3 separate regions of the Homo sapiens genome follow, and regions 2 and 3 are each linked to region 1. The links are contacts of gene promoters, found by promoter capture Hi-C in blood cells and fetal thymus (Javierre and others, 2016). All regions are on one chromosome and are shown on one strand. Each heading gives the region's core, a stretch centred on a gene start or on the middle of the fragment in contact. The rest is flanking DNA. Distances are from core to core; before and after follow the strand shown.

Region 1 (3,196 bases), core at 482-2,981:
GCCTTCAAGCATCTGTTTAACAAAGCCCATCTTGCACCGCCCTTAATCCATTTAACCCTGAGTGGACACAGCACATGTTTCAGAGAGCGCAGGGTTGGGGGTAAGGTCATAGATCAACAGGATCCCAAGGCAGAAGAATTTTTCTTAGTACAGAACAAAATGAAAAGTCTCCCATGTCTACCTCTTTCTACACAGACACAGCAACCATCCGATTTCTCAATCTTTTCCCCACCTTTCCCCCTTTTCTATTCCACAAAACCGCCATTGTCATCATGGCCCGTTCTCAATGAGCTGTTGGGTACACCTCCCAGACCGGGTGGTGGCCGGGCAGAGGGGCTCCTCACTTCCCAGTAGCGGCGGCCGGGCAGAGGCGCCCGTCACCTCCCGGACGGGGCGGCCGGCCGGGCGGGGGGCCGACCCCCCCACCTCCCTCCCGGACGGGGCGGCCGGCCGGGCGGAGACGCTCTTCACCTCTCAGACGGGGCGGCTGCCGGGCGGAGGGTCTCCTCACTTCTCAGACGGGGCGGCCGGGCAGAGACGCTCTTCACCTCCCAGACGGGGTCGCGGCCGGGCAGAGGCGCTCCTCACATCCCAGACGGGGCGGCGGGGCAGAGGCACTCCCCACATCTCAGACGATGGGCGGCCAGGCAGAGACGCTCCTCACTTCATCCCAGACGATGGGCAGCCGGGCAGAGACGCTCCTCACTTCCTAGACAGGATGGCGGCCGGGCAGAGACGCTCCTCACTTTCCAGACTGGGCAGCCAGGCAGAGGGGCTCCTCACATCCCAGACGATGGGCGGCCAGGCAGAGAGGCTCCTCACTTCCCAGACGGGGTGGCGGCCGGGCAAAGGCTGCAATCTCGGCACTTTGGGAGGCCAAGGCAGGCGGCTGGGAGGTGGAGGTTGCAGCGAGCCGAGATCACGCCACTGCACCCCAGCCTGGGCACCATTGAGCACTGAGTGAACGAGACTCCGTCTGCAATCCCGGCACCTCGGGAGGCCGAGGCTGGCGGATCACTCGCGGTTAGGAGCTGGAGACCAGCCCGGCCAACACAGCGAAACCCCGTCTCCACCAAAAAAATACGAAAAACAGTCAGGCGTGGCGGCGCGCACCTGCAATCGCAGGCACTCGGCAGGCTGAGGCAGGAGAATCAGGCAGGGAGGTTGCAGTGAGCCGAGATGGCAGTACAGTCCAGCTTTGGCTCGGCATCAGAGGGAGACTGTGGAAAGAGAGGGAGAGGGAGACCGTGGGGAGAGGGAGACGGGAGAGGGAGACGGGAGAGGGAGAGGGAGAAGGAGAGGGACCCGATTATTTTCTTTTATCTCAGCAGTCAGCAGGGCGTAATGTAATTTATTTGCTTATATTTATGGCTTTCCCAAAGACTATTATTTCTCTATTCCCAGTGTCTAGCACATATTAGGTGCTTGAAAAATGCGTGTTTGTATTAGTGGTTAGGGGTAGATATTACGGAAGAAGATGAAGTCTACTTGTTGGCCTGTGGATGGCATTTCTCTGTTCTAATGGGAAGTAAGGCCGAAGACTTCGGAGGGCGCAACCCGTGTAGTAACCTCGCAAAGGGGCCCGCGAGTCTCCACGTCGTTGGCTGCCTTGCCTCGGGTTTCCGCTGGGTGGAGAGGAAAGTGGGGCGGGAAATCGAAAAACGAACTCTCAGCTCCCGGCATTCCTCGTGGGCGGTGCTCCCCTTTGACCCTTCGCTCGCGTGCTACACATCCGGGCTTCTGCTACTAGTGAGAGGAAGATGGCGGCCGCGGCTGTGGTGGTTCCCGCAGAGTGGATAAAGAACTGGGAGAAATCAGGGAGAGGCGAATTGTGAGTGTTCGGGCCGGAGGCAGGCGCACTGCCGGGCCGGGCCAGGGCGTCAGCTGCACTCTCACCTGTAGTGGGAGGTTGAGGGGGAAAGATGTACCCCCTCCCCCACCCGGGCGGCGGGCGTGGATGGTCGTCTAGGAGTTTCGAACTCGGGGAGAGGTGCTGTTTACCGCCGCGGACCTCCTTCCTTCCCTGGCCTCCCAGAAATCGCTACTGCCTGCGGTAGCTCGGCTTCCTTTAGCCTCTTAGTAGAACTCTTATTCCGCCCCTGCAGGTCTCCGCGCTCCCTCTTGGTCTCTTTTTGTGTCCCCCTCTTCGCTTGATCTCACTTGGCTCCTTTATCTTTATGGGGCTGAGCCGGGGCAATTCGGACTTTCCATCTCTCTCTGTGCCATTTCTTCACTCTGCACCCGTTGGACTCCGCAGTTTGGAGCTTGGCGCCTCCTCTGCCTGAAGTCCAAGGAGGGCGAACCGTCCCGGATTCCCCTCCCCTCCTCTTCGCCCGCTGCCGCGAAGCCCGGGGCGCCGCGAAGAACCCGGTTTGGCACCTCTCGCCCTCCCGGGGAGCGGTCTCTCGACTGTCCCGGCCTCGCGTAGCGCCGTGGGGAAGTGTGGCAGGGATTGCCGCTTTCCCTGAAGAACCACCGACATTTCTTTGCTCCGTCTTTTCACCTTAGAGCTATTTCGGGTTGGATTCAACTTTCGTCATTAAATGTTCCCTAAACCCCATTTTATCCTGGGACTGCAACTAATTCTGGCAGCTCTCCAAGCTTCTCCAGTACCTAGGATAACGCGTTTCCTTTAGTCGTGAAACTTTCCCCCGTAACACCGAAAACAGTAATTTGCCATACCCCTAGTCTTCTCGCCCCCACGTTAGAGCGCTCCCTCCTCCCCTTCCCCTGGAAGGAGTCGTTTAAGCAGCAAAGCAAACCTCAGATATAAGAACAAATATTAATAACATCTCATTTCCTTCTCTGGGTCGCTTTTAGATGCTAAAGCTCAACCCTGGATGAAATTAACCCTCGTTAGCCATTTTTGTCGTCCTTGCCCACCCCTCTCCATTTCTAGTAGCCAGTTTACCGTGGCTCATGCTAAAGATTCAAATCTTTGTAACTTCGTTACTTGGAACGAAACACGAGGAACGCGTTGCCGGATCCCGCGCTTGTAATAGTGCCAGCCTATGTGGCTTCCTCCCCCGCACCCCCCGCACTGCTGTATGAAGTCTTAACAGTGTGAGCTCTAGAATTCCCTAAATAAGCGGCTGTCTTAGCCACTTAAGTAGCTGAGTGACCTTGGGTAAGTTCCTTAACCACTTGGACTGTTTCCCCTTGAGTAAATTGGGAATAATAAGTACTCTACTCAAAG
Region 2 (3,196 bases), core at 389-2,888, 350 kb before region 1:
AAAAAAATAAATGAACCTCTCCTGCTCCAAAAAAAAAAAAGATGCTGAGGAAATTATTTAATGGCATAAATGTGTTCAGTGTTTATTAATATTAAAATGCAGCCTTACAAAATGGAATGCACAATTTAATTTTGTTAAAAAATCAGATTTCATGTACGCATAAAAAAGAGTAACAAGGCCATCAAAAAACAAAAAGGTTATTGTGAAGTGAAAACATTAAGGATAATTTGCATTTGTTCCTTTTTATATTTTCTAAACAGTACAGCTAGCAGCTATTACTTTATAGCAAAAGTTATTTTTTAAATGCCATCTTTTCAACCTTTTAAATTTTATTTATTTTTCTTTCTTCATTTTCTGTAGAGATGGGCTCTTGCTATGTTGCCCAGGCTGGCCTCCAACTCCTGGGCTCAAGCAATTCTCAACCTTGGCCTCCCAAAGTGCTGGGATTACAGGCATCAGCCACTACACCCAGCCTACATTTTATTAATTTTAATAGAGAAAATTCAAATTCTCAAATAAAATTAAGAACATTCCTGGCTGGGTACGGTGGCTCACGCCTGTAATCCCAGCACTTTGGGAGGCCGAGGCAGGTGGATCACGAGGTCAGGAGATTGAGACCATCCTAGCTAACACGGTGAAACCCCGTCTCTACTAAAAATACAAAAAAATTAGCCGGGTGTGGTGGCGGGTGCCTGTAGTCCCAGCTACTTGGGAGGCTGAGGCAGGAGAATGGCGTGAACCTGGGAGGTGGAGCCTGCAGTGAGCCAAGATCACGCCACTGCACTCCAGCCTGGGCGACAGGGCGAGACTCCGTCTCAAAAGAAAAGGAAAAAAAAAAAAGGACATTCCTAAAAGAAAGTTCATTAAGTTGGAATGGGTTGGGTTGGGTTTTGCATGCAAATTTTGTCTCCAAAGACAAAAGTATACTAAGTCAGTAATTTTATCTAATTAAATGCCTCAACACTGCCAAAATGAAAACTATTGGTTTTTTTGTTTGTTTGTTTTGAGACAGAGTCTCACTCTGTCGCCCAGGCTGGAGTGCAGTGGCATGATCTTGGCTCATTGCAACCTCCACCTACGAGGTTCAAGCAATTCTCGTGCCTCAGCCTCCCAAGTGGCTGGGATTATAGGCTCACATCATCATGCCCAGCTAATTTTTGTATTTTTAGTAGAGACGGGGTTTCACCATGTTGGCCAGGCTGGTCTCGAATTCCTGATCTCAGGTGATCCACCCACCTCAGCCTCCCAAAGCACTGGGATTACAGGAATGAGCCACTGTGCCTGGCCAAAACTATTGTGTTTTAGTTATAAAATTAATATATGCTCACAAAAATAAGTTTGGAAATATACAGAGAAAAAAGTAGAATTCAACATGAAATCTACCAAAACAAGTTAACCACTGTTAATATATTTTGTGATTATGAAGCTCTTTATACATTAATGAATATAGATCTACACTAATTTTAAGTGTTGTACAACGGTCATCGCAGAAATGTACTATACAGTAAATTTATCTAATATCCTAATAGACTTTTAGATTATGTCTTACTTCCTATAAACAACATTGCAATATACAACTTTGTATATCAACTTTTGCAAACTTGTCTTATCACCTTGGATAAAAGAGTAGATTTAAAAAGTAGAATTGCTGCCTCAAATGGCATACACATTATAAATTTTTACATAAATTGCCAAATTGCCTACCATATCTATATTTCCTCCATACCTTAGATAGCTATAGGTTTTGCCAATCTTGACAGTTTGAAAGCAAAAAAATAATCTCACTTATACTTTCTTGTATTTCTACTTTTATAAATTGCCTATTGCACACTTTGCCCAATTTCAACTGCTACCTTATTTTGCTAACTATTAGGTGTTAATTGTGTTAGCTAAAGTTGGTACTCTTAATGCTTACCTGTTGCAGACTGAGAATAAGGGTCTTAGCACACTGAATTTTGTCTATCTGCCTTGTTTTACTCATTGTTTCTTTGATGATATCTCCATAGTCATTATAATACTATAAAGAAATTTGTACAAATTAGAGCTTTATCTCTTAAAACTACTTGACAATAAGACAAATTTTAGGTTAGTCATGTAAACACGTCACAAAGTATGTATTTAGCCAAAATTATGCCTTCAAAGGCAGGAAAGAATGTTACTGAAACCTAAAGATCATTTCTAAGCATACAATCCCTAACTTCAGTAAAATCATATATACAAAACAGTTAAGATCTAATCAAATTAAGCTCCAGACTTGGTTAAAATAAAGACGGTATACTGGTCAGTTTTAGTCAAAACAACAATTAGGTTATGCAGATTTTCAGAAGTAACACAAAATGTACAAACAAAATTCTCTTTGTAAAACAATAAATATAATCTCAGTTACACTTATAACTAATTCATTGATACCGGGTATACAGGCCACGAGCAGTTTAAAACTTTATTAATTTGGCTTATAGAATCTAACAGCCTATAAACAACTTTTAAAAGGAAAGCATATAAACAACTTTTAAAAGTTGTTTATATGACATTTACATTACACATTGCACATGAAATTTTTTCCTAATTTAAGATTGTGTTTCAAACACGTACAATAACAATTATCAGAGATAACAGAATAACCACGTCCCTATGACTAGTAAGTGACTTTAGAATACCTAAGACTAAAACTTTAAAATTTGTTAAATAACTTCATAAACAACCTTAGTTTAAAAAAAAAAAAACCTGGTAATTATCATCCCAAATGATTTAAGTTCCAAAATAATTTTCAATGATATTAGAGTTCAAGTAGCAAAATATTCCAGAGAGGATTAACTAGGTTTAAATATATTACATATTTTATTTCTTGAAAGCAAAGGCTTTAAAAAGTTTACATTTATAATTAGATTTTAGTTGAGGAAGGATTTTTAAGCTATCTTACCACATTTAGTCACATTCTGTTAGTATAATCAACAATATCCTGTTTATCACTACTTTCAACTTAACAAAACCTCACATATAGTTATGAAAATTATGAATAACCTATGGTTAATCAAATCAGACTTTGAGAACCAAAGGGGAAAACCTTAACAATCACAGTGGAACAGATAAAGGAACTCAGGTCACAAAATGCTTGGAGTTATTCAAGGTCGCAAGATGCATAGTAACCAAGCCAAAACTACCACCCAAGTCTTCTGACTCCTGAAACTCTTTTTAA
Region 3 (3,196 bases), core at 141-2,640, 260 kb before region 1:
AGCTAATTTTTTGTATTTTTAGTAGAGGCGGGGTTTCACCATGTTAGCCAGGATGGTCTCGATCTCCTCACCTCGTGATCCACCCGCCTCGGCCTCCCAAAGTGCTGAGATTACAGGCGTGAGCCACTGCTAATGATCTTTTTCTTACTGACTCCAAAGAGCTCTTTATATGTTAGGATAAATAGCCTTTCAGGCTTCTTAAGTCAAAAGTTCTCTCCACTGCTTCCACAGAGATGATTTCCTGCTAAAACGGATTCGTTGTGCAAAAGCCCTACCATATCTCCCTAGTCGTGACTAAACCTTTTCCATAAAGGCTTTATCTTGTAGCCTGCTCATCTCTTTACCTGCTCCCATTGTCACATACAAAGGATATTATTGTATTTTACAGTCAAGCTTTCTAAGATCTACCATCTCTGGGCCAGCTCACTATTCTCCACACTTCTTTGATGCACGACCTACCGGCCCCTCTACACATTTTTTGTAATCGGCACATTTTATGTCTCCAAGTGTGCTAAAAATAGGAGTTTGCAGAGGTTTTTTGTTTACGTTGTTGTTTCTGTATTATACGAGAGGGAAAAAAATGCTTTTATACTACCATGGTAATACCAGAAGTGTTACCAAAATACTTACGCAAGTAATAGCATAACATGGTTTCTACAGCAAATCAACTTCCCCTAAATACTAATCAACGCTGAATTTGTTTTTAAGTTAAAAGCTTTTCCCAAGGTCACACAGCTAAGAGGCAAGAATCTAGGCTTGAACTCATCTTCTACATATTTGTCTCATAAATATATACTTGTCTTACTAGGATAATCCACATAATAGCTCTTCAGAACAAAAATAAGACTACACTCTTAAAGTATTGTGAATCACTCAATTTCAAACATAAGGTCTTAATTTCCTTCCTTTGTACTTAAGGAACTATCTAAAACTATCACATAGAAACCCCTGAAATATCTTACTCTTCATTCAATACATGCAATAAAAATAATAGTTTCCTTACAATTGTGTACACAAAACGATCTTTAGCAAAATCTTGAGCAGCAGAAAATCCCCAACAGCTGCACTTTACCATCAATCTTATTATAAAGCAATAGGCATTTGCTTTGGGTTAGATATGGTTTGTTTGTCCCCACCAAAACTCATGTTGAAATTTGATCCCCAACGTGGCTGTGTTGGGAGGTAAAGCCTACTGAGAGGTGTTTGGGTCATGGTGGCAGATCCCTCATGAATGACTTGTTGCCAATCTTTTGGTAATGAGTGAGATTCTGAGTTCTCACTCTGGTGAGACTGGATTAGTTCTCCTGGAAATGGATTCATTCCCAAGAGAGTGGGGCTGTTGCTATAAAGCCAAGCTATCCCTTGGGTTCTCTCTTTGAATGTGTCCACTTCCCCTTTGACCTTATCTACCATGTTTTGACCTAGCAAGTAACCATCACCAGAAGCCAAGTAGATATGGTGCAATGCTTCTCTTATTTTCCAGACTGTAGAACACTGAGCTAAAACCTCTTTTGTTTATAAATTACCCAGCCTCGGGTGTTCTGTTACAGCAAAACACAAATGGACTAAGACAGCATTTACTGCCTGTAATTATACTTCCTAAAGAGGAGCAGTAACTCCCCCATAATGCCTATAGGTGGTTGTTTAATAAATAAATTATGGAAAATTCCACCTATATGAGAGCAGTTCTCTTAAATTCCAATATGCATAAAAATCATATAAAATGTTCGTTTAAATGCATGGTCACAGGTCCGACATCCAAGGACTCATTCAGTAGATCTGTATACAGGTCTCAGGTATTTGTATTATTCATAAATCCCCTAATATAGGTGAATCCATACTCCACTTTAAGAAAAGCTATTCTAAGTCATGGAATCAGCAACCTGTTATATATAGGATTACCCAGTTTTAGAGAAACAGGAGGTATGAGTAGCTAGGGAAGAGAAGCAAACATTCTCCCTGCTTCCTGCCTTGGGCCACTTAATCATCTGAACATTATTCACTCAAATGCCAGGAACCCACAGCTCAATGATGCATTTCCCCAGAATGTCCTTAAGAAGCTTTCCAGAGAATAAGCCACCAGTGGCCACACTACTCTTCTTTCCACAAGAAAAAAAAAATGTACCTTTCCTGAAAGGTATTGCTCAAATTTAAGGTAAGCGAGATTGAAAATCTCCAGGAAGTTCATTCCATATAGATTTCAACTCACCACTGGGATCTTCCCCGATTTTCTTTAAATGGAATTTTTTTAAAAATTGTTTTTTGTGTAGAGTCAAGGTCTCACCAAGTTGCCCAGGCTGGTCTTGAACTCCTGGACTCAGCCTCCTAAAGGGCTGGGATTACAGGTGTGAGTCACTGTGACTGGCTCCTCTGTTCATTTTCTATCTTCTACAGAAACACTAAGCCACCCAGTTTTTAGTCTAAATAACTCAAAAGTTTACCCAACTAGAAAAATGTATCGTTTAAGAAAAATACAAGGTATCATTTTTAGGCACTTATATTTAAATATAATCAATCCCAACAAGATCCTGCAAAAACCAAAGACCTGCTTTTTCTATTAATAAAATTGAACCTACAGTTTCAATCACAATGTTTGTCTCATTATTCCATGGAAAGTACTCATTCCCATCTCTGTTTCTCCAGCCTGTAACCATAACCACCCCCTTTGTACTCAATGCAGAATCATTCTTTAAGGACCAGTTAAAACCATAGGACAGGCACAGTAGCTCACGCCTGTAACCCCAGCACTTTCGGAGGCCAAGGCGGGCAGATCTCTTGAGCTCAGGAATTTCAGACCAGCCTGGGGAACATGGTGAGACCCCGTCTCTACAAAAAAATTCAAAAATTAGCTGGACATGGTGGTGTGTGCCTGTGGTCCCAGCTACTTGGGAGGTTGATGTTGGAGAATTGCTTAAGTCTGGGAGGTAGACGTTTCAGTGAGCCGAGATTGAGCCACTGCACTCCAGCCTGGGAGACAGAGGGAGACCCTGTCTCCAAGAAAAACACAGCATTTGTTCCATGAAACTCTCCCTACTACAGCCCTCAATGAATTGATCTCTTCGAGTGCAGTAAACTTAGACTCAAATGCACAAAGTAAAAAGGCTACGGAAATTTAAAAAAAAAGTAAAATTTAAAAATTTTAAGAGATTTCAATTCAAATATTAAGTATATCTGTAGCAGCACTGTGGTAGGCCTG

The links. Contacts are between HindIII fragments. The CHiCAGO score rates a contact against its expected background, and 5 or more counts as called.
Region 2: a contact is called between a fragment that was not itself captured here and the fragment with the promoter of THOC2 in region 1, in 1 of 17 cell types (total B cells). The highest score is 5.1, in total B cells.
Region 3: a fragment that was not itself captured here is called in contact with the fragment with the promoter of THOC2 in region 1 in 1 of 17 cell types (M0 macrophages); the score reaches 5.1 in M0 macrophages.

The regions. Positions count from the first base shown.
Region 1 is chrX:123,731,587-123,734,782 of GRCh38, reverse strand. THOC2 (THO complex subunit 2) reads left to right here and starts at 1,731. Exons shown (of 39, transcript NM_001081550.2): 1 at 1,731-1,831. The coding sequence starts at 1,761. RefSeq lists an enhancer at 1,716-1,795. The HindIII fragment of the contact is 10,140 bases long and covers 1-2,603 here.
Region 2 is chrX:124,076,778-124,079,973 of GRCh38, reverse strand. STAG2 (STAG2 cohesin complex component) reads right to left here. Exons shown (of 35, transcript NM_001042750.2): 27 at 1,916-2,017. Among named protein-coding and RNA genes, the nearest start is that of STAG2, 120 kb to the right of the region's middle. The HindIII fragment of the contact is 5,321 bases long and covers 1-3,196 here.
Region 3 is chrX:123,992,355-123,995,550 of GRCh38, reverse strand. The region is part of intron 1 of STAG2 (STAG2 cohesin complex component); the gene reads right to left. Among named protein-coding and RNA genes, the nearest start is that of STAG2, 32 kb to the right of the region's middle. The HindIII fragment of the contact is 1,345 bases long and covers 718-2,062 here.